7 separate regions of the Homo sapiens genome follow, and all the other regions are linked to region 7. The links are contacts of gene promoters, found by promoter capture Hi-C in blood cells and fetal thymus (Javierre and others, 2016). All regions are on one chromosome and are shown on one strand. Each heading gives the region's core, a stretch centred on a gene start or on the middle of the fragment in contact. The rest is flanking DNA. Distances are from core to core; before and after follow the strand shown.

Evidence for each region. Contacts are between HindIII fragments. The CHiCAGO score rates a contact against its expected background, and 5 or more counts as called.
Region 1: a contact is called between a fragment that was not itself captured here and the fragment with the promoter of SRFBP1 in region 7, in 8 of 17 cell types (total CD8 T cells, non-activated CD4 T cells, naive CD8 T cells and 5 more). The highest score is 13.8, in total CD8 T cells.
Region 2: a contact is called between a fragment that was not itself captured here and the fragment with the promoter of SRFBP1 in region 7, in 1 of 17 cell types (fetal thymus). The highest score is 6.3, in fetal thymus.
Region 3: a contact is called between a fragment that was not itself captured here and the fragment with the promoter of SRFBP1 in region 7, in 1 of 17 cell types (monocytes). The highest score is 7.7, in monocytes.
Region 4: a contact is called between a fragment that was not itself captured here and the fragment with the promoter of SRFBP1 in region 7, in 1 of 17 cell types (naive CD8 T cells). The highest score is 8.8, in naive CD8 T cells.
Region 5: a contact is called between a fragment that was not itself captured here and the fragment with the promoter of SRFBP1 in region 7, in 1 of 17 cell types (non-activated CD4 T cells). The highest score is 6.5, in non-activated CD4 T cells.
Region 6: a contact is called between a fragment that was not itself captured here and the fragment with the promoter of SRFBP1 in region 7, in 1 of 17 cell types (monocytes). The highest score is 9.2, in monocytes.

What each region holds. Positions count from the first base shown.
Region 1 is chr5:118,988,761-118,991,460 of GRCh38, reverse strand. No RefSeq gene overlaps it. Among named protein-coding and RNA genes, the nearest start is that of DTWD2, 1.6 kb to the right of the region's middle. The HindIII fragment of the contact is 1,187 bases long and covers 857-2,043 here.
Region 2 is chr5:119,328,902-119,331,867 of GRCh38, reverse strand. It overlaps a transcript of TNFAIP8 not described here. Among named protein-coding and RNA genes, the nearest start is that of TNFAIP8, 26 kb to the left of the region's middle. RefSeq lists enhancers at 2,511-2,560, 2,285-2,966. The HindIII fragment of the contact is 4,578 bases long and covers 1-2,966 here.
Region 3 is chr5:119,017,556-119,020,276 of GRCh38, reverse strand. DMXL1-DT (DMXL1 divergent transcript) reads left to right here. Exons shown (of 3, transcript NR_134250.1): 2 at 37-200. Among named protein-coding and RNA genes, the nearest start is that of DTWD2, 30 kb to the right of the region's middle. The HindIII fragment of the contact is 4,389 bases long and covers 1-2,721 here.
Region 4 is chr5:119,445,843-119,448,547 of GRCh38, reverse strand. No RefSeq gene overlaps it. Among named protein-coding and RNA genes, the nearest start is that of HSD17B4, 5.3 kb to the left of the region's middle. The HindIII fragment of the contact is 3,139 bases long and covers 1-2,705 here.
Region 5 is chr5:119,059,142-119,061,930 of GRCh38, reverse strand. All of the region lies in intron 1 of DMXL1-DT (DMXL1 divergent transcript), which reads left to right. Among named protein-coding and RNA genes, the nearest start is that of DMXL1-DT, 10 kb to the left of the region's middle. The HindIII fragment of the contact is 714 bases long and covers 1,085-1,798 here.
Region 6 is chr5:119,273,000-119,275,866 of GRCh38, reverse strand. It overlaps a transcript of TNFAIP8 not described here. Among named protein-coding and RNA genes, the nearest start is that of TNFAIP8, 82 kb to the left of the region's middle. RefSeq lists enhancers at 1,036-1,085, 1,508-2,007, 2,082-2,131, 2,252-2,341. The HindIII fragment of the contact is 1,298 bases long and covers 969-2,266 here.
Region 7 is chr5:121,960,388-121,963,340 of GRCh38, reverse strand. It overlaps SRFBP1 (serum response factor binding protein 1), which reads right to left and starts at 1,366. Exons shown (of 8, transcript NM_152546.3): 1 at 1,273-1,366. The coding sequence starts at 1,308. RefSeq lists enhancers at 1,381-1,430, 1,175-1,713. The HindIII fragment of the contact is 3,156 bases long and covers 1-2,953 here.

The DNA of each region.
Region 1 (2,700 bases), core at 201-2,700, 3.0 Mb after region 7:
TGCAGTGAGCCGAGATTGCGCCACTGCAGTCCGCAGTCCGACCTGGGCAACAGAGCGAGACTCCGTCTCAAAAAAAAAAAAAAAAAAAAAAAAAAAAGAACTGGCCTGACATGGTGGCACGCAGCCTGTAGTCCCAGCTACTCGGGAGGCTGAGGCAGAATTGCTTGAACCCGGGAGGCGGAGGTCGCAGTGAGCCCAGATCACGCCACTACTCTCCAGCCTGGGCGGCAGAGCGAGACTCCATCTCAAAAAAAAAAAAAAAAACAAAGGAAAAAGCCACTAAATTTGTGGTTATTAGTTCCACAGTGATAGAAAATGAATATAGCAAAAAATACCATGTTTTTATTTCATTTAAATCAAATCTTATACAATGCTGAATCCTCATACTGCAGGCCTGGCAGGATATTCAATCCCTTACATTACTGAGGCCCTTTCCTCTACCAGTAACAGGATCTCCTTTTCCCACAACACCAGGCGTGGACCTAAGATTGTCCTCAGTCTTTACTACCCAAACTCCTCTGAGGCAAAGGAGCATAAAAGTCTGGTTTTCTACCTGAAGTTGGGAGATAAACAAAACATACATTAACACCTCAATACATTATCTTGACACTAGTAAGTTGTCTGTATCCCATAAAGGATATTTTACTTCCCTTTCTGGTGTCTTGGCACTTCCCAGAAGCTGAGTCACTGATGGTCTGATACCTGGGTCTGCCCCAAGGTGGTAACCTCACCTGCATGTTTCCTCAGGCGTCTGAAGGTCATTGTTCACAAACCTGGATATTGGGTGAATTTCTTGCTTCCTATAGAGGAAAATGGCTCTCCTTTCTCAACTCTGTGTCTTGCCTGGATGGAAGCTTTCTTTGATTTTGGTCAGCCTCTGAGACAATGGACTTGTAGGGGATTTTCTTCATAAGGAGCGGAGATGGAGCAGGAGACCACTTAGGTCTTTGGCAATATTCTATGCAAGAGATGACGGGGGCTTGAACCAGGGCAGAAGTAGTAGGTGAGATAAATGTTTGGATTTTGAATACTTTGAAGGGTAAAGCCAATAATCTGATATGGGGTGTTAAAAGGAAGCCCCAAGTAAGTAGGCTCACATCAACCTAAAAGGAAGGAGCAGAGGCAAAATTAATATAGAGAGTTTATTTGGGCCAACGTTGAGGACTGTAGCCTAGGTCGTACTTCCAGGTTGCTGTGGAGAGTGCTCTGGAGAACAAAATGGGCTGGAGTTTTTAAAGAAAAGAGAACGAATCAGCAGAGGGGGGCATTACAAAAGCTATGTCTCAGGAAGTGTCATTTATTTACAGAAATAACATTGGTTAGTGATTGGCTATACATATTGTTGAACTATAGGGTATACGGCGTTTTATGGCTACTCGGTGTCAGTCTAGGGCCTGCATAGCAAGTGCCTTCAAGAGGTAATTATTTAGCTCAAGGGAGAGTGAGACATGACTGCTCGCATTCCTTAGATAAAAAGTTTTTTTTTTTTTCCTTATCATCTGTCTTCTCACACCACACAATTGGGAGTCTCAAGGGACCTTAGAGGACTTGAGCACATTTCACCTCTTGAAATTAAAGATGAGCAGCTTCCTTTCGTTTAAAGATAAGTCACATGAGAATTTAATTTTGGCAGTTAAAGAATTGGTTCCCCAACCTAAATCTACAGACAAGATGAATTTTCTGATTCATCTCCTTTCCTACAGTTTCTGGATTTTGTTTATCCTCCGATTCCAAATGGCATAATTGCTAGTTCTTTCTCCCACTCTACGTCCATCACCAGGTGGGTGTTTCAGCCTTTTTCTATCCCTCACATAGGACGCTCCAAAGGAAAAGAGAGGTGCTGTTTCCGGGGGGAAAGAACGTAGGATAGTTGAAAACAGCACGGTATTTTATTCACAAACTTGATTTTAAGATGACTGAAAAATCTAATGTGAAATAAACATTTTAAGAAATACAGTATTTGCTCTATTACTGTGTTGTCTACTTTGCCTCACATTTAATCTATTACAACTATAGAGTTAAGACAACTGTGATTCCTAAGCTTAATTCACATGATTGATCAAAACCAAGCTTAATTCTGTTTTAATGTTGTGTATTGCTGGAAGTAACACAAAGCATTAATAAACAAAAGGAATTCGATACCCATTTTGGGTAAATAGTATTTCTGCCTTCATTCTAACATAGATTTCATTTTGGCTTTTAAAAAACAGCTGCTGTGCTATATACCGCCGTATCCAGTAGTTGTTAAATACCTGGGCAACGTTACCTTTCTAGGGCTTGTTTCCTCATACATAAAACCTATTGGTACCCCGGGCCAGCTCTCCTATTGCTTCCTGATCGGGGACGATCTAAAAATCTAATTTAACAAATATCTGGTGTCCAGTGTAAAATAGCATGCTTGATGTCTTATTAGCACAAGACATAGAAGAGCAGGAAATTCACATAAGGAAACGGACCAGCTGTGAGTAGTTCCCAGTGGATATAACCTCTCCTTTGTTGGCCTTTAAATAATAAGTGCATCAGCTGCCGCACCTGCGATGCATGCACGCGTGGAAATCCTGCAAATTCTTAAACTGCCATCCCAAGGCGGAAAATGCAGAATTCCATTTTATTTTAACTTTTAAAGGAGTTAAATTCGGGCTTGGTACTGGGGTCCTCTCGGGGAGGTTTCCCTTACCTCTCCCAATGACGCTACTTAAC
Region 2 (2,966 bases), core at 379-2,878, 2.6 Mb after region 7:
AAATACTGCATCTAAACAGTGGAACAGGCCTCTCACATTTCCCTAAAATGTGACCTCAGTGGTGGCTGCATGGCTAGGTGGTCACTAGGAACCACTCTTTCCAGTTCTGCTAGGGGAGGATGGGGCAGTGCAGTGAGGCTGCAGGAAGACAAGGCTGGAGGAAGAATCCTGCAGTCCTATGTGAAAACAACTGCCTTCATGGCATCAGGGCCCTTACACATGCTCCAGGCCCAGTCGGGGAGGCACCAGCAAGGTCCCAACACCAGGCAAGGGCAGAGGACATGGTAGCCTCATGTATCCAGTGGGCACCTCTACACCCAGCAGGAAACTCCTGGTTTTGGAGAGAGCTCTCCAAAAACAGGAGAACAAAAAGCAAAGCATCTGCACAGACATTTCCCTAAGACACTCCTTTTCTCTCACTTGAGACTAGAATGCCCAAGATATCCCCGGATCTATTCAAAGTGTGCTGTTTAAACCAGTCCCAGCAGTTAGCATCCTGCTTATCCTACTTGATTTGGGAACAAAGAAGAGTCATCACAGACATAGGCTAGAGAGCAGGGAGATTCTCAAGTAAGTATTTGTGAAGCAGTCAAACCTTACAGAATAGCCTTATGTTTAAAAAAAAAAAAAAAAGCTAATATCTCTTTGTAGATATGACTATGCACAGCACTTCCATGCTTCCCTAGGACTTGTGAATTAAGACACTCTAGGTAGGTTCAGGGATCAACATTGTGATGATTGCCCAATGTGGATGCATCACCCATGCTTCAAGGCAAGGAGGAGAGTGGAGGCAGCCAGGACTTCCAGCCCTAGGAGCCCTGCCTGGTGGCCTAGTGGCTGAAGAATCTGTCCAGGCCTAGCTTCGTGAAAGCAATTTGTGCTCAGGAATATAGTTGGCTCTTGGCCTTTTTCTTGGTGGGCACAACTCTGCAGCAGAAGCGCAGGGCTAATCTGTACCCTAACCCCTAACCCCCAGCCCCTGAGAGTGCAACTGGCATTGGCAGTCATGGAGGTAGCCTGGAGTGTCACAGTAATACCAAATAAGCTGTCATTAGGGAAGTCTGCGGCCACCTTATCTGGTACTTCTTCTCTATCTCTCTGCAAACACATGATGGTGGCCATGAGAAAATGAGATCCTTCCCTTCCGTGTGTGTGTACTCCACGTTATCTCGGCATCTCAGAGCAAGAGACTATCACTTACATCATTTCACTCTCCCCACACCCTGCGAAAGTGGGTGGCAATCCCAGTTTCCAAAGCGAGTGTCAGAGCAGAGAGGTTAAGCAGCATATTCAGCAGGACCCTGCACAATAGGACAGGGCTGAGAGGAGAGGCCATGAGGCCTAACCCCTACCCTCCCAGAACAATCTCTAGACACACATGCTCTCGCTGGCCTAGTTTCATCAACTGCTTATCACATACCCCAAGAAAAATATTTCCTTTATAGCTACCCACATCCTTATCAGAAGCACATTCAACAAAATCATCAAAAGAGTGATGACATTTGTGTCTGCATAAAAAGATACTTTCATTTGTTTATTTCATCTAATTCTACAGCCTCAGACAGAACTGGAAATGTCTACAAAACACCTTGGCCTTTATGCTTTGGCATTCCCAGGACGTTCCCTAATCCCTAGTGCTTAATGCCATGGCTGCCAAGATTAATTTCATTTTCTTTCTGTTCAACCTTCCTCTCTTCCCATCAGTCCTCTCTGTACCCTCCTCGTATGCTGAATCCTGCCCATGCTAACTCTTTCAATGGCGTGCCTAAACCATGGCGCTAATTATAGCTTCCCCCTCCTCTATTCAACTTACTCCTCTTTGTCTCTCTCCTCTTCTTCAAAGAGGAAAGAGTCATTGGTGAAGCAGGGAGGAAGGCAGGCTGAGAAGGAATTATTCCAGGAGACTCAGGGACTGAGATAAACAATATGCTCAGAAGCGTTTTCCAGATGGCCTAACAGAGACGGCGGATGGTCAGACTCACTTCTCACATAAAGGAGGCCTTGCACAGCACAGGATTTCCCCAAACCTTGTCTGGACATGGACTTGCATGGTCCATGTCTAGACAAGGCTGGGGAAATCCTGCTGCTAAGCACCTGGAGATGTCCACAGTGTGCATGGTGCTCTCACTGTGGTCCACTCACTCCTCGCCAAAACCCTGGGAGGTGGGCGTCATTATCCTCGGATTACAGGTGTGGAAACCCAGCTCCATAAAGTTAACATATCTGTTCAGCAGAATGCTGGGATATGAGCCTACATCTGCTGGCTTTTTTCTCTTCATATCATATCGCAAAAGCATCCATGATTCACCAGACAGAAAGCACAAAAAGCAAACTGTGTGGAAAATAGGAAGAACACCTTTCTATTTAACAGAAAGGCAAAAGACCTCACAAGGCCAGGTAGAGTAGTGAGTTAAGCAGTGTGAACAGCTGCTGCTGAGGGCCAGCACAGGGGCAGAGACTGCTCAGGTCTGTCATCACCACAGCTGCCATTCACGTTGCCTGCCCAAATGGGTTGCACAAAAGGTAAGTGTGGGAAGGTAGGCCTTTTTATCATGTAGTACTTGTTTCTATGTTTTAAGTATAAATTGTGTAAAAATGTTGTTAGAAGCAAAAAAAGAAGACTATCTTCTAATTTCTCTTAGAATCAGATAACTTGGGTGTTGGCAAGACCGCTGATACCATCTAACCTCATTTCACAAGCGAGGAAAACAGGGCCATCCAAGGAGGCTGAAAGGCACGCCCAGAATCCCACCACTAGCTGTGAGCAGCACAGCTGCGGCACTCGCTGGGTCCTAGGCCTGCAGAATGAGCATCTACGTCTGTCTTCCTATGATTCATGCTCAAGTCTCTCTTCACACTTGCAGCACCAATGAAAACACTAAATCAGCATTTAGAAAGCAAAGAAACACCGAGTGCTGGCTGCAATAAATATGCTGGCACTTGAATGTGGTTTATTCTCTACTGAA
Region 3 (2,721 bases), core at 128-2,627, 2.9 Mb after region 7:
TTTTTAGTATAGGAGTAACTTTTTTTTTTTTTTAAGAGACAGAGTCTTGTTCTGTCGTGCATGCTGGCGTACAGTGCCACAATCACAGCTCACCGCAGCTTCCAACTTCTGGACTCACATGATCCTTCTGCCTCAGACTTCCAAGTACTTGGGACTACAGTCACGAATCACCACAGCCAGCTTGGAGTGACTTTCTAAGGGTAAATAACGAGTCAATTGAGACTGTAATTATATGACTTGGGGCAAAATTAACTGTGGTCAGCTGACTTGTTACCGTATTTAATTTTAATTTTGGAGCTTGTATTCAAAAGCTATTATATGAATATAAGAATAAATGATTTTTTTAACAAAAAAGAGTATTTTAGAAGAGAAACATGATATCTAGAAGAGAAACATTTCAACTTACTATTCTCTGGGCTTTTGTTAAACTACACTCACATCTCTCCTAAAATAAACAAAATCAATCATCCATCATACGCTCATATAATGGCATTTTCAGTGAATAGAGGTATTGTGCAGAACATGTCCCAAAATGTAAAATCTAAGATTTCCCATATGTGGCTGCCACAATAACTCCACTCATGCATTCTAACATCTAATAGTCTAACATTATTTCTATATTTAGTTTTTCTTTAAACTTCCTCTTTTTTTTTTTGTTTTTTTGGTAATTGCCACATCTGCTTTAGCAATTTTGTGATTTTTAAACTTCCTCCTGCAAAAAGGTTTTAAAAACATTTATGTTGCTTGTATAATATAACCATTATCTCTTTGGAAACTTGGAAAAATATAGTAAAATTAGTGGGAAATGGAATTATAAGCATTCTTTTTTTTTTCTTTTGATGGAGTCTCACTCTGTCGCCCAGGCTGGAGTGCAGTGGCACAATCTCAGTTCATTGCAACCTCCGCCTCCCGGGTTCAAGTGATTCTCCTGCCTCAGCCTCCTGAGTAGCTGGGATTACAGGTGTGCGCCAGCACACCTGACTAATTTTTGTATTTTTAGTAGAGAAGGAGTTTCGCCATGTTGGCCAGGCTTGTCTTGAACTCCAGACCTCAGGTGATCCACCTACCTCAGCTTCCCAAAGTGCTGGGATTACAGGTATGAGCCACCGCCCTTGGCCCAAGCATTCTTTCTTTTTCTTTTTCGTTTTCTTTTCTTTTCTTTTTTTTTTTTTGAGATGGAGTTTCACTCTTGATGCCCAGGCTGGAGTGCAATGGCTCACTGCAACCTCCGCCTCTGGGGTTCAAGCGATTCTCCTGCCTCAGCCTCCCGAGAAGCTGGGATTACAGGCATGTGCCACCACGCCCGGCTAATTTTGTATTTTTAGTAGAGACGAAATTTCTCATGTTGGTCAGGCTGGTCTTGAACTCCCAACCTCAGGTGATCCACCCATCTCGGCCTCCCAAAGTGCTGGGAATGCCAGGTATATTTTCCCCATAGTTTTAGCTCAAGGTATTACATAGTTATTGCCAAAAAAAAACAATGGTAAACATCTATAGCTGAGTCGTCCGTGAATATTTAATGGATTAGTTAAGAAATAGTGACTCAGGAAATATAAACTTTAATCTTAGCTATTTCTGATGTAATGTCATGTCAGTCATTCTTTTTACTCTACGTTATTTTGATTTTGTACCTCATAAAATTTGGGAAACTGCTAGTAAATAACTACACTCAACAATGTGGGAAGGATGAAAGAGGCTTTATGATGTCACAGAAAGAGCAGTTGGCCAGGAATTAGAAGATCTGGCTTCTAAATATAGTCTTTTCACTTAAAATTGCCATGTTACTTTAGGCAAGCCATTTCATTTTTCAGAGGCTGTCATTTTCTTCATCTATCAGATACAGATGATAATACATATCTTATTTATATTTTAAGGCTGTAGGGAAGTACAAAATTAAATAGTGTTGGTAAAAGGACTTTACAAATTGCAAAGTTATAATTTCAGAAATAACACCAGGGCTTTGCTATAGTACCATTTGCTACAGCATGGAATTCAACATAATGCTGCTCTATTTCAGACTATTGAAAGGGGTACGTCAGTGGCAAGGCTATATCATATTCATATTTGCAGGAATTTCTAGGTTGGTATAATGAAATTCAAAGGATATTTATTTTAGAATTCTGACTCATTTCTGTTAACTCATACATATACTATTTCAATGATTTACTTTTGTTTTGAGAATTACTTGATTTTCCCCTATTTGTTCTCCATTCCTTTGTCCACCAACTCCCACCCCCACAAACAGTAAACTAAAAACAGACGTTCTTCTTTTTCTTTTATGAGACAGGGTCTCACTCTATCACCCAGGCTGGAGTATGGTGGCACAATCTTGGCTTATTGCAGCCTCGACCTCCTAGGCTCAAGCAATCCTCCTGCCTCAGCCTCCTGAGTAGCTGGTACAACAGGTGTGAGCCACCGCGCCCAGCTTATTTTTTAGTTTTTGTAGAGACAGGGTTTTGCTGAGTTGCCCAGGCTAGTCTCGAACTCCCAGCCTCAAGTGACCCTCCTCCATCACCTCCCAAAGTCCTGGGATTACAGGCAGGCACCGCCACACCCGGCTCTGAAAACAGATGTTTATAGAAGAACCAATGGTCATTTTTGTGTTCCAGATCTGTTAGAAGTTTACAGTACAATCAAAGGGATTTGAAAAGATCTCATGGAGCTATTCTAGCTTTAGTAAAGCCTATATATAGGAAAATGATGGCTCATTTTATTTGCTGC
Region 4 (2,705 bases), core at 135-2,634, 2.5 Mb after region 7:
AGGCATCCTGTAAAGGGCCCATTTACCCTTAGTTGCTGGCTAACTCACTGGACAGAGCAGTCAGACCTTGCAATGCCTTTGTTATACTTCCATTAGGGGCGGTATTGTTTGGGATGAAGGTACAACACTGAGTTTTAATCATGATGCAAACTCCTCCTCTTTCTGCTAATATCATGTCTCAGGCTATCCTATTTTCCCAAGCCATCTGGCTAGTAGCCCCTAATTGCTCAGCTATTCTTTTAACAGCATCTCTAGGGTAGTTAATAAATCGCTGTTGGTTGCAATAAATGTAGTTTATCAAACCTACATTTTTATTAATTGTAACTTACCAAAATACTGGCTGAAATCCTGCAGCTATTTGATTTTGGGCTTTAAATTGATCTGGTATTCCCAGTGGGACTCCAATTGCGTCTAAATAGACATGAGAGTTGAAAGACCCATAAGGGGCCTCTTTCACTTTACGATGTCTTATTTTTCCTTCCTCCAGTTGATGAAATGCCAGAGTAAAAGAGATAACCAATTGAATTAGACCATAAGTACTGCTCTAATTATTTGGCAGAGTGTCCAGTAAAGGTCCTCCCTAATACCACCATACAACCAGTCAGGGATGAATAAGGGCAGACTGTTGGGTCAGCTCTTGGAAGTGCCTGACTTCCCTGCATCCTGTTAAGTCTCCAGGGAATGCCAAATTTTTCCCCTTGTCATTGGAGACATGAGGTAAAATTGGCTTTGGAAGATGGAGGCTGGATGGCCCTTGGGGGCTGACCCACAGCGTGTTGAACTTCAGGAAATAGCAGAGAAAGAGCTTGGCACAATTTGTTATTCCAGGCGGTAGAATCTTGAAAAAGAGCTACCATGCACTCCATGTCCAGTTGATTTGAGGACCATCCCAGTGGAAAGGGAACAACCTGGGCCTCTGGCCTACTGTGCACACAACAGTAACAGTCGCTTTTGTTTCAAGTGCGAACGGAATATTTAATCCATTTTAACCAGGGATTTACATCTTTTTACTCTGTTTCAATGGCTATGGTTTGCCTTAGGTCTTCTATTTCTACTACTGAGACCTTGCTTTTGTCATTTGGCATGAGGCGAGGCATAGTTTGATTTCATAGGTTTGGGAAAGGGGCAGTTGTAGGAGGTGGAGGAGGGAGAACAAACCACATCTTAAAGAAACCTATAGGATCCTTTCCAGTGACCTCTACTCCTAAACCATAAAAATGCTCAAAAGTGGGGTTAGAGTTGCTAGTGGTAGGAATAGTAATGGCTATAGGCACTGGATTCAGAAAGGAAAGGAAAAGATAGATAGACTACACTTTTCTTAGCTTTAGTTTGGTAGGGCTTGATCCAGGAACAATGGCCCATGATTCTGATGATAACGGCGCTTACTTGACTCGGGTGTGATGTGTCCAACCCCCTTCCGCGGTACGAACAACAGTCTCAGTGGTTAGCAGCACTAGGTAGGGTCCTTCCCAGGCTGGCACAAATTTTCCTTCTTTCCACCCTTTGACAAGAATGTGATCCCCAGGCTGGTGCTGATTTACTGGAAATTCTAGGGGTGGTACCTGTGCTAAAAGACATTTAGTTTTGAGAGAAAGGAAAGTGGAAGATAAACCAAGTGTATAATTTCTGAGAAACTGATCTTTTGTTTTAAATTTGGGAACACCAGCAGTGGACTTTATAGTCCTTAGTGCCTCCCTGCTGAGAAATTTCCTTTGGCACCTATTTTTATTAGTTGTTAGACCAAAGAAACCCAAACACCCTTTTACATTTGACAATGCTTCCTGTATGATTTTATACCAGATAAGCTAAATTTTACCTTTATATTAGTGTGTTATTAATGTTAAACTTGATTTTAATAAAACCCTATAGACATAATTATCAAATTTTAATGTCTGACCATAAGGTAAGATTTCCATAGACTCTATTTAACCTTTTATAATTTTGTTAAAGAGCAGTTAGTGTTTTAAGAAAAACCCACTGTGCTTTTATTTTAACGTCCAGTCCACGGAAAAACTGCATGATACCCCTTTAACTTTAGCTAATATGTTTACACATAGAATTTCCTTTACAATTAACGTTTTAAAACTTGCTTAAACCTTTAAAACAAAATATTTTTAACCTTTTAATGTAGGTAAAAATCCACATTCTTATGCCTCCTTATAATCTTTTAACCAAAAGTATATTTTATTTTTCTTACACACCTTGCACATAAAGTGTTTCTTCAATAGTTTTACACTCAGGAAGCCTAATTACTATTAAATTATGCAACATTTCTTGCATAAATTCTCTTTTATAACTTTTTTTTCACGACTTTCACAGACAATTCCTCAACATGCCTCAACTTTCTGACTTGTTGCAAACATCCCTTTCTTTAAACAACCAGTTAATTTATTTTAGGACAAGAATTTACCATATAACTTTTTTTTTAATTTTGAACAATTTTTATTGCTTTCTTACCTTTATAGTGTTGCTATGGAAATGTCTGATAATAATCTGATAGTTATTCATCTTTACTGAGCAATTTTATCTCTGGAACATTTTATAATTTTCTCTTTGAAATGTTTATTATAATGTATTTAATGTGGGGTATTTACTTATCCATTCTTTCTTTTTTCTTTTTCTTCTTTTTGGGTGAAAAAGGGGGAGAAGAGTCAGGAGGCGGTTGGTAAGCCCGGCGACAAAAGTGGGAAAGAGGGAGGGAGTGG
Region 5 (2,789 bases), core at 192-2,691, 2.9 Mb after region 7:
AGAACTAAAGGTAGATAAAAGAAACATCTTTTGCTGTAAGTGAAAAAGTAATTTTTGCTCTACTATATATATATTTCTGGGAAGAAAAAAAATCTCACCCTCAAGCTTGTGTTCTTTAAAATGAAATATTTTGACCAAGCAGAGTGGCCCATGCCTATAATCCCAGCAATTTGGAAGGGCAAGGCAGGATAGCTTGAGACCAGGAGTTCAAGACCAGCCTGGGCAACATAGAGAGAGACCTCATCTCTATTTTTAAAAAACGAAATGTTAAAATATATGATGGTAGTTTTACATATTTCTAATTTTTTATTATAGATAATGCAGTCTGGTGTCTGACATATTACATTTGTTTGCTTAATATTTTTTCTAGAAAAGGTTTTTATCCTGGAAAAAAAAGAGGGAAAACATTTTGAAGATTTCTTTTAGAAAAGTAATGGAAGCTGGGCGCGGTGGCTCATACCTGTAATCCCAGCACTTTGGGAGGCCAAGGTGGGTGGATCACCTGAGGTCAGGAATTTGAGACCAGCCTAGCCAACATGGTGAAACCCTGTCTCTACTAAAAATACAAAAATTAGCAGGGCATGGTGCAGGCACCTGTAATCCCAGTTACTCTGGAGGCTGAGGCAGGAGAATCACTTGAATCCGGGAGGCAGAGGTTGCAGTGAGCCAAGATCGTGCCATTCCACTCCAGCCTGGGCAACAGGAGTGAAACTCCATCTCAAAAAAAAAAAAAAAAAAAGAGAGAGAAAAGAAAAGTAGTAGTGGAAACTAGCCACTAATTAGCAGGGTTGGATGACTAAGGAAATGGTATTTTACTAATGTAGTAAGATAGGGAGAAAATAGTAGGATAAGCCATTTTGGGTAGGTAAGGCTAAGACTAATTTCAGCATTAGAAGTTGAAGTAATCATGGGGCGTCTATTACAGAAGATAGTTGGGAAGATGGGATTGGGGCTCAGGAATGCTGTCAGAGCAGGTAATACAAAACCAAGAGCTATCTTCTGTCAAGAGTTTAGCGTCATGAATGGAGGAGATTTCCAAGGGAGAAGGTGAAGAAAGTGGAGTAGAGAACTGAGAACTAAAGCTTAGTGACTACCCAATATTAGTAGTCAAGGGTTCAACTCTTCTAACGCAGTCAGGTGGATGGGAGGGGCATTGAGGAATAATGATTTTAGGAAGTGCCTGGGGGGGGGAAAAGGTTGCTGCTCAGAGAGTAAAAAGAATTGAAGTCTAAGAGAACATCGGATTTAGGATTTTAGAAAGTCATTAGTGACTGTCAGAAATGTACTTTGGTAAAGTGGAGGTTATCAATGTTAGATTAGATGATGAAGACATAAGGAGACCTTCACTGTGTAAATTGTCTTTGCCCTTTTACTTACTTTTTGCCCTTTTCTCAAGCGGGTTCCTGAAATAAGAAATCTATGAAGAAAATGACAAGACTCTGAAGAATTAGCTTGCCATGAGGGACTCAATCGGAGGCTTGAATCTGACCTGGAGACTGAGAACTCTTGAATAGATGAAGATAGTATCTTTCTTTTCCTTTCCTTCAATCTTTCTTTTTAAATATATTTGTTTGGTTGTTTTTTAGAGACTAAGAAGTTTTTAAATTGCCCTAATATCTACAAGGCTCTCACAGGGAAAGGTGCTGACTGGAGAATACCTACACTACAATAGATAAAAAGGCAGTGGCTTCCTAGGCTGCAGAGAACAAGTCCTTTCTAGCAGTGGCTCAGGACTACTGTTTTGAAAAGTCTAATTACTTTGCTTCTCTGACCTTGATTGCTACCTTTAAAAGAAGCTTTAAAGCCTGTTTGGTCTCCTAAACTTGCCAAGCCCTGCTGCCTGGGTCTAGTCAGTAATCTTGCCCTGCACAGACCTCTTACTGTCTGACCACAGGCCTTAGCTAACCCCATTTGTGTCACACCCCACTGCTATGCCTCCTTTGGAAAGGCCTATCTAAGAAGTAGCTCCTTATATAAATGGAAGGACACTAAAGACTCCTGATGGAGTAAACACAGAGGAGATAAGGAATCAAGGGTGGAGGGATTGGTCTTGGACATGGTAAATGTAGAGATAGAGACTATCTAGTCAGAAAGGTTAAACTTGATAGTCTTCATTCTACAAAGTAGGATGCAAATTCTTTTCAAAGAGGAACTGTGAATTGTATAGTATGTGAATTATCTTTCAATAAAGCTATTTTTAAACAGCAGAGAATGTAAGAGATGGACTAGAATTAGGAAAGTATTGGGTTTAAAAGTCACATTCATATTACGATGGCAATTCCTGGTTATGGATCTCTTTAATGATGTTTCTATACAGAGTGAATGTAGTAGTCTGTATGTTTCTCTCTTCCTTTTTAATTGAAATATTAGATTGCTCCAAAGGTTTCCATACAACCTGTTCAACTTTCTAGCAGTCATTCCAGAAAGGGAACAAATGAAGTGTAACCATATATTTACTAATCAACAAATGCAAACATGATGGCTATATTAAATATTCAAATGCATAAATAATATTTATATTATATGTGTTAGGCTGTACATAACAGACTAGGCAACTAGCAGTGGCTTAAATAAAAAATATTTATTATTAAATATATATTATTATAATATGTTATTATTAAATATATATTTTATAAATATTTATTATTAGGTTGTAGCATGTGCCTATATTCCCAGCTATGTATGCCAGAGGAGGCTGAGGCAGGAGGATCCCTTGAGCCCAGGACAGGAGTTTGTGACCAGCCTGGGCAACATAGCAAGACCCCATCTCTGAAAAATAAAAATAAAAA
Region 6 (2,867 bases), core at 368-2,867, 2.7 Mb after region 7:
CCTGTTATTCTCTGTTCAAATATTTAAATCTAGAGGGGAAAAAAAAAGCTGTCAATCTACTAAAATTAATACTATGTTATGATCAGTAGCAAACCTTTATTATTCTAATTTCCATGGCCCCTATTAGAATGATAAATTAAAAACTGACTAAAATTCAGAAAAAGGGAAGTCTCAAGTACTGGCAAAACCCAAAATGCAAAAGAAGCAGGAGGAAGTTACAGAACATGGCTTCAAAGAAAAAAATGGTCTGTTTTTCATTTTCTCATTTTCTACCATTACAAAATGAGAGGGACACTCTGAGAACAGAATAGATTCCTGGAGGTACCAGGACCTCAGGACAGGAAACAGGCCTGGGTTAGGGGAAACGGTCCGCTTGGCAACTCCGAGTCCTGAGTTGGGCCCGTGCTCTTCCAAACATGCGCCGCTGTTGAAATAAGGATGCCCATCCCAGTTCAGTATCTACAAACCACCTGAGTTATCCTTAAGTCAGCTGGCATACTGGATTTATGATGTCAGCATTGTTGGTGACTCAAGTCTAGATTTTCAACTAATGAACACTGGGCAGACTCTCCAATGTCTCTGTTTCATGGCCTTCAATTTCTGGATCTATTTGTGGGACACCACTAATTGTTTTGGTTGTTATTTTTTGTTCTTGACCTGGTTGCTTGTTAATATTTTTCCACCCAGTGAAGACCTATAAAAACAACTTTGTTATTTCTTAAGATGGGTACATAGGTGTTCATTTTATATGTTGTGTTTATTTTATATGTTGTGTTCATTTTAATCTTCTTTAAACTTTAAAGCCACTCTGTACTTTCAAGAGCTCTTTCCACTGCCAAAAAAAAAAAAAAAATTAAAAAAAAATCCCTACAGCTAGCTGCTGCCTGAATAAGCTTCTTTCTAGAACAAGACAGGAAAATGAGTCACATAAGTCTCCCAGGCTAGGGGTTCTCAATTTGCATCAAGCTTCACTGGTGATTCTGACTTAACAGTCAGGTTCACAGGAATAGTCCCAGATGAGCCCTAAAATACAGCACATTGGATAAGTTCAAAGTTTCATTTGGTGTATCACTTTTGTAGCTGCCCAGATAATGATGTTCTCAAACTACCCTACCTGGGCAGAGCTTCCCTGCCAGGGAGGTGATAAGCACCACAGGTACACAGGGCAGGGAATCCTTGCTTCCTCAGGAGGCTCCCTATTTACACAGGGTCTCTTACCTTGAAAAGTAATAGCAGCCTGTTCCTTCAGGCACTATCAGTCATTCCAGGTCATAAAAGCAAAGGAGCAAAGTGGCTACGTGTGTGCAAACAGAGGTCATCACCGGATGTTGGGAAGGCCTGAGTTCACTCACCTCTTCCAGGTATACCTCATGAGTCACTAGCAGCCTAATTCTGCCTCAAGGCAAAAGGAATTCCATCACTAAGTGAGGACTGCTCTGCCCTTCAAGTGTAGCAAAACAGTATTTAACCAAACACCTGCCATTTTCCAGAAAACAATCTCAACCCTTTAAAGAGTGAAGAAGGAAAAATAAAAGAGTAGTTTCCTGACCACAGAATGATGGAATGAGGTACTGGACTTACTTCCCAAAGATTTACGTGACCAAAGTTTGTTCTGAAACTTGCACTGTTGCCAACACTGTCCATGCATTTTTTTCTCAGAAGACTGGCATTTTTTTTCGTGTCTGCATGTGTGTGAGGGTCTGAACACAGTCAGAAGAGAGCTCAGGACAGGAAAGACGAGTGTAGTTAGGTCTACATAGCACACACCACAATCTCTGTCTCCCCTATTTTTGTTGACAGCCATGTTGTAAAACCAAACAAACAAACAAACAAAAAACCTCATTTTGTTAAACAAATGATAAATAAGAGTAATAAATAAGAGTTAGGAATGAGGAAGGCTTGAGCTAAATGAATTTGGGTTGAAGGAGTAAGAGCCAGGCTTAGAGAGGGTATTGACAGAGTGAGCTGTTGCTTACTTTTTGGCTCCTTTAAAATATCCAAGAGTCTACTGTGTGCCTTGCTGAGTACTGTGTTCCCAAAAGACCTTGCCCCGGTGCCTAATCCTGCAGATGCGGTCCCTGCCCTGGGCCTCCCGGACCTCACGCAACTTCCCCTGAAGACATGCCAGCCCGATTCCCTTTGCAACACCAAGGGCAGCTGTCTGTCTTAAATAATCTGGTTTCATTCACTACCTGTTTTAAACATGGGAGTTGTGAAAGGCCAACCCACTGCTCACAATTTAACTGTAATAGGTCTTTTGAAAGCTTCCCTCATGCAGAGAAGCTTAATGGGTACTATGGCTCGTCTTCGTTCTCAGGCACATAAAACTCGAATGCCCTGCTCTGGCTCACTTATCTTTGGCAGCAGCGGTGACATTTCCCTTATATAATCATGTGACCCTGCAGCTAGCAATCACTGAAGTTGTGCTACATTCACCCCATTCTCTGGGCTCCTCTGGCATTGTTAAAGGAAAAAAGAATTCATGCTAAAATCACATATGACACAAGTTACTACTTTCCCTCTCTACTCCACTGTGGCTCAGTACTAACACTTACTGGAATGAGACCTATTTGGCCAATCTAACTAAGTCCTCCACTTAATGGGTGCCTTCTGCACACTGATACAGGAGAGGAACATCTGGCTTAATCTGCACAACAATCCTATAATATAAATACTATCCCCAGTTTTTACTCTGGTGAAGAAACAGGCTCAGAGAGCTAAGTAGATTGTCCAAAGCCACACAGCCAGCAGGGGCTGAGACATGAGCTGCTGATTCCAGCAAAGTCATTTGGACCAACTACTTCTTGACTAAAGTCATCTTTATTCCCAATGTTTAAGGAAACTACAAGTGGAATTTTGAACTTAAT
Region 7 (2,953 bases), core at 117-2,616:
TATGAGTAAATAGTAACTACTTTCAGCTTCCCTCTTCAGCATATCCTGTACTCCACTGTCAACTGAAATCCTGACTCGTTAATCTGGCAGCAGAGAATATATTTCAGTTTTATTTCCTTCTTCATCTCACAAGTTCCCATCAGTGAAGAGTTACTTATCCCTGTATTACCCACGGGTTCTTCTGCTACTAGCCCTTTCCTGCTTATACCAGTCCCTCTGCCTGGAATGACTTCTTCCCCTTTCCTGAATCACTGACTGCAATTCCTGTGCAAGATCCCTAAAGACCAAGGACAAGTATCACCCATTTCATTTTGCCGCCTTTGGAAACTTTTCTGCATTACTAGGTTTTGGAGGCATTCTTCACACATTGTTCTGTAACACAGGTGAGTGTTGCTTAGCTCTCTTACTTGAGTATAGGTTACTAGAAAATATGAAATATCCCTTACACTACTGTGTGTAATCTAAACAGTGACTTGCTCATAAACGGGATAAAGAATTTCCTTTCTGTATCTAACTGTGAGGTCCTTACTCGATCCTTATGTTTCCAGCTTACTTTAAGACTTTGGATGACATTATTTTGTTGAATAGAAGCAGAAACCAGAGGGGGATAAGTGGTAGAAATGGTATTTTGTCGACACCGCACACTATGGAAGTGACGGTGGTGAGAACAAATGTCTGATGAGAATGGACTGAAAAAGCAGAAAAAAGAATTGAGGATAGCAAGTATAAACAGCTCTTTATTGAAGTTCTGCTGTAAACGGAAGCAAAGAAATAGGACACTAACTGGAAGAGGAAACGAAGTACTGAGCATACAGTCTCATTCAAGACCACCAATTTCTTAGAAGCTACAGCTCTTACTTTCTCTCTTTCATTTTCGACAGGCAATAAAGAGCAGGTAATGTGTACTGAAAGTTTATTAAGGGTCAGGCACTTGCAAATACTTTACGTATCTCAGTTAATCTCACAACCCTGGGACGAACTATCTTGAGTTCCGCTTTACAGACGAGAATATTGAACGTACAGGCTAAAGGTTCTTCCCAAAGTCCCACAGACATAAATTCGTGGGGCCTGACACATGTCTCTCACTTTAGTCACCTGGAGACCGAAAAGGGAAATTACCGGTTGCCAAACTCCAAGTTGCGGGAAACCCGCCTGGGCCCACCACGAAAGTTCCTCCAACCGCACCCTCTATGCCCGCCTCCGACCACGCGTCTCAAAAGAGCTGGTTTTGAGGACCCTTAAAGTCAGCCCCATAGGTTCCTCGGCGCTCACCTCGTTATTGAGGTTCAGAGTTCCCGGCTGAGCCATGGTAGATGAAGGAATATGATCCGCCGCTGCCTGCACGTGAACCGGTCTCTCAGACCGCGGCTGCGTCGCCACGCCCCTCAACGGAAGCCTCTTCTGTCCAAAACTCATCCGCCTTCTGCTCTAGCTGCCGCCTGGGAACAAGAAACATTGACGCTTGGAAGGGAAAACCGGAACTGAGACAGAACAACTACCGGCGCAGAGGGCTACGCAACGGAATTGCGCGTTCCTATGGAAACCAGACGGGGGCTGGTAGCTGGGCAACGTCTAGTTTTTCAAGATTCGGTTTGTGTGTGTGTGTGTGTGTGTGTGTGTGTGTGTGTGTGTGTGTGTGTGTTCCCTTGGTACACTGCGCTCGCATTGTACCGGCCTTGGTTTTTCTCTCTAATGGCTAGGGGGGCGCTGAACGGCGGTGAAAGAGCTCTTCTGAAATGATCACTTGAATGAACGATTTTTTGCTTCCATTTTTTTAAATCTAGTATTTGTGAAGATTTCTGCTTTTCTAACAAGCACACCTTTTTAAATCCTCGCAGTTTTTTGTTACAACCTGACATTATAGCTGAGGTGCGGACATTTTTTTCCTGCACACTATAGAAGGGTTTAAATTTAGGGAATAAACATTTGAAGCAAAACCAGGATACACATTTGGTACTGCCTGTGGGAATGGCTGTTTATTAGCCGGCAAGCATAGGAGACGTAAGGGAGTGTGTTTGAATTAGGTAATATATAATTGTCAACACCTTCTAGTATTGACCATTAAAATGTGTCAAATGGTGGTCCAAGAGCTTTACATAAATTAGCTCCAAATCTCCACAGAAATCCAACAAGATAGAAATTATTTTCCTTTTATTAATATTATTTTGTTAGAGACCCAGTCTCTCTTTGTCATCCAGGCTGGTGTGCAGTGGCACAGTCATAGCTCACTGCAGCCTCAAACTCTTGGGCTCAAGCCATCCTCTCACCTCAGCCTTCCAAATAACTAGGACTACAGGAGTGAGCCACCCTACTCTGCTCTGAACTATTATTTTACAGATGTGGAAAGTGACTTCAGAGGCACCAAGTGCCTCGCCCAGAGTCACTTGCCTGGGACTGTCCACTGCTACAGGACTTCAAGTCCAGCTACATAATACCTGGGGTACAGTGCAAAATGAAAATCCAGGCCCCTTTATTCAAAATGCAGGAAAAACGTTTCTTCCGGCGGAGGGTGGTGGCTCATGCCTGTAATCCCAGTACTTTAGGAAGCCTAGGCGGGCGGATCACCTGAGGTCGGGAGTTCGAGACCAGCCTGACCAACGTGGAGAAACCCCGTCTCTACTAAAAATACAAAATTAGCCGACCGTGGTGACGCATGCTTGTAATCCCAGCTACTCGGGAGGCTGAGGCAGGAGAATCACTTGAACCTGGGAGGCGGAGGTTGCCGTGAGCCAAGATCACTCCAGACTGGGCAACAAGAGTGAAACTTCGTCTCAAAAAAAAAAAAAAGTTTCTTCCATAGCGTCTCTTGACTCATCATGGTGTTTGTTAATTTACTATTTAATACGATGCTCCCTAAAGCACAGAGACATTAGGTTGTCAGGGCAGACCCTCAAAGGTGCCTGAGACCCCTGCCCCAAGACTCAGGTAGGAGTGTATACACTGGAGCAAGGTG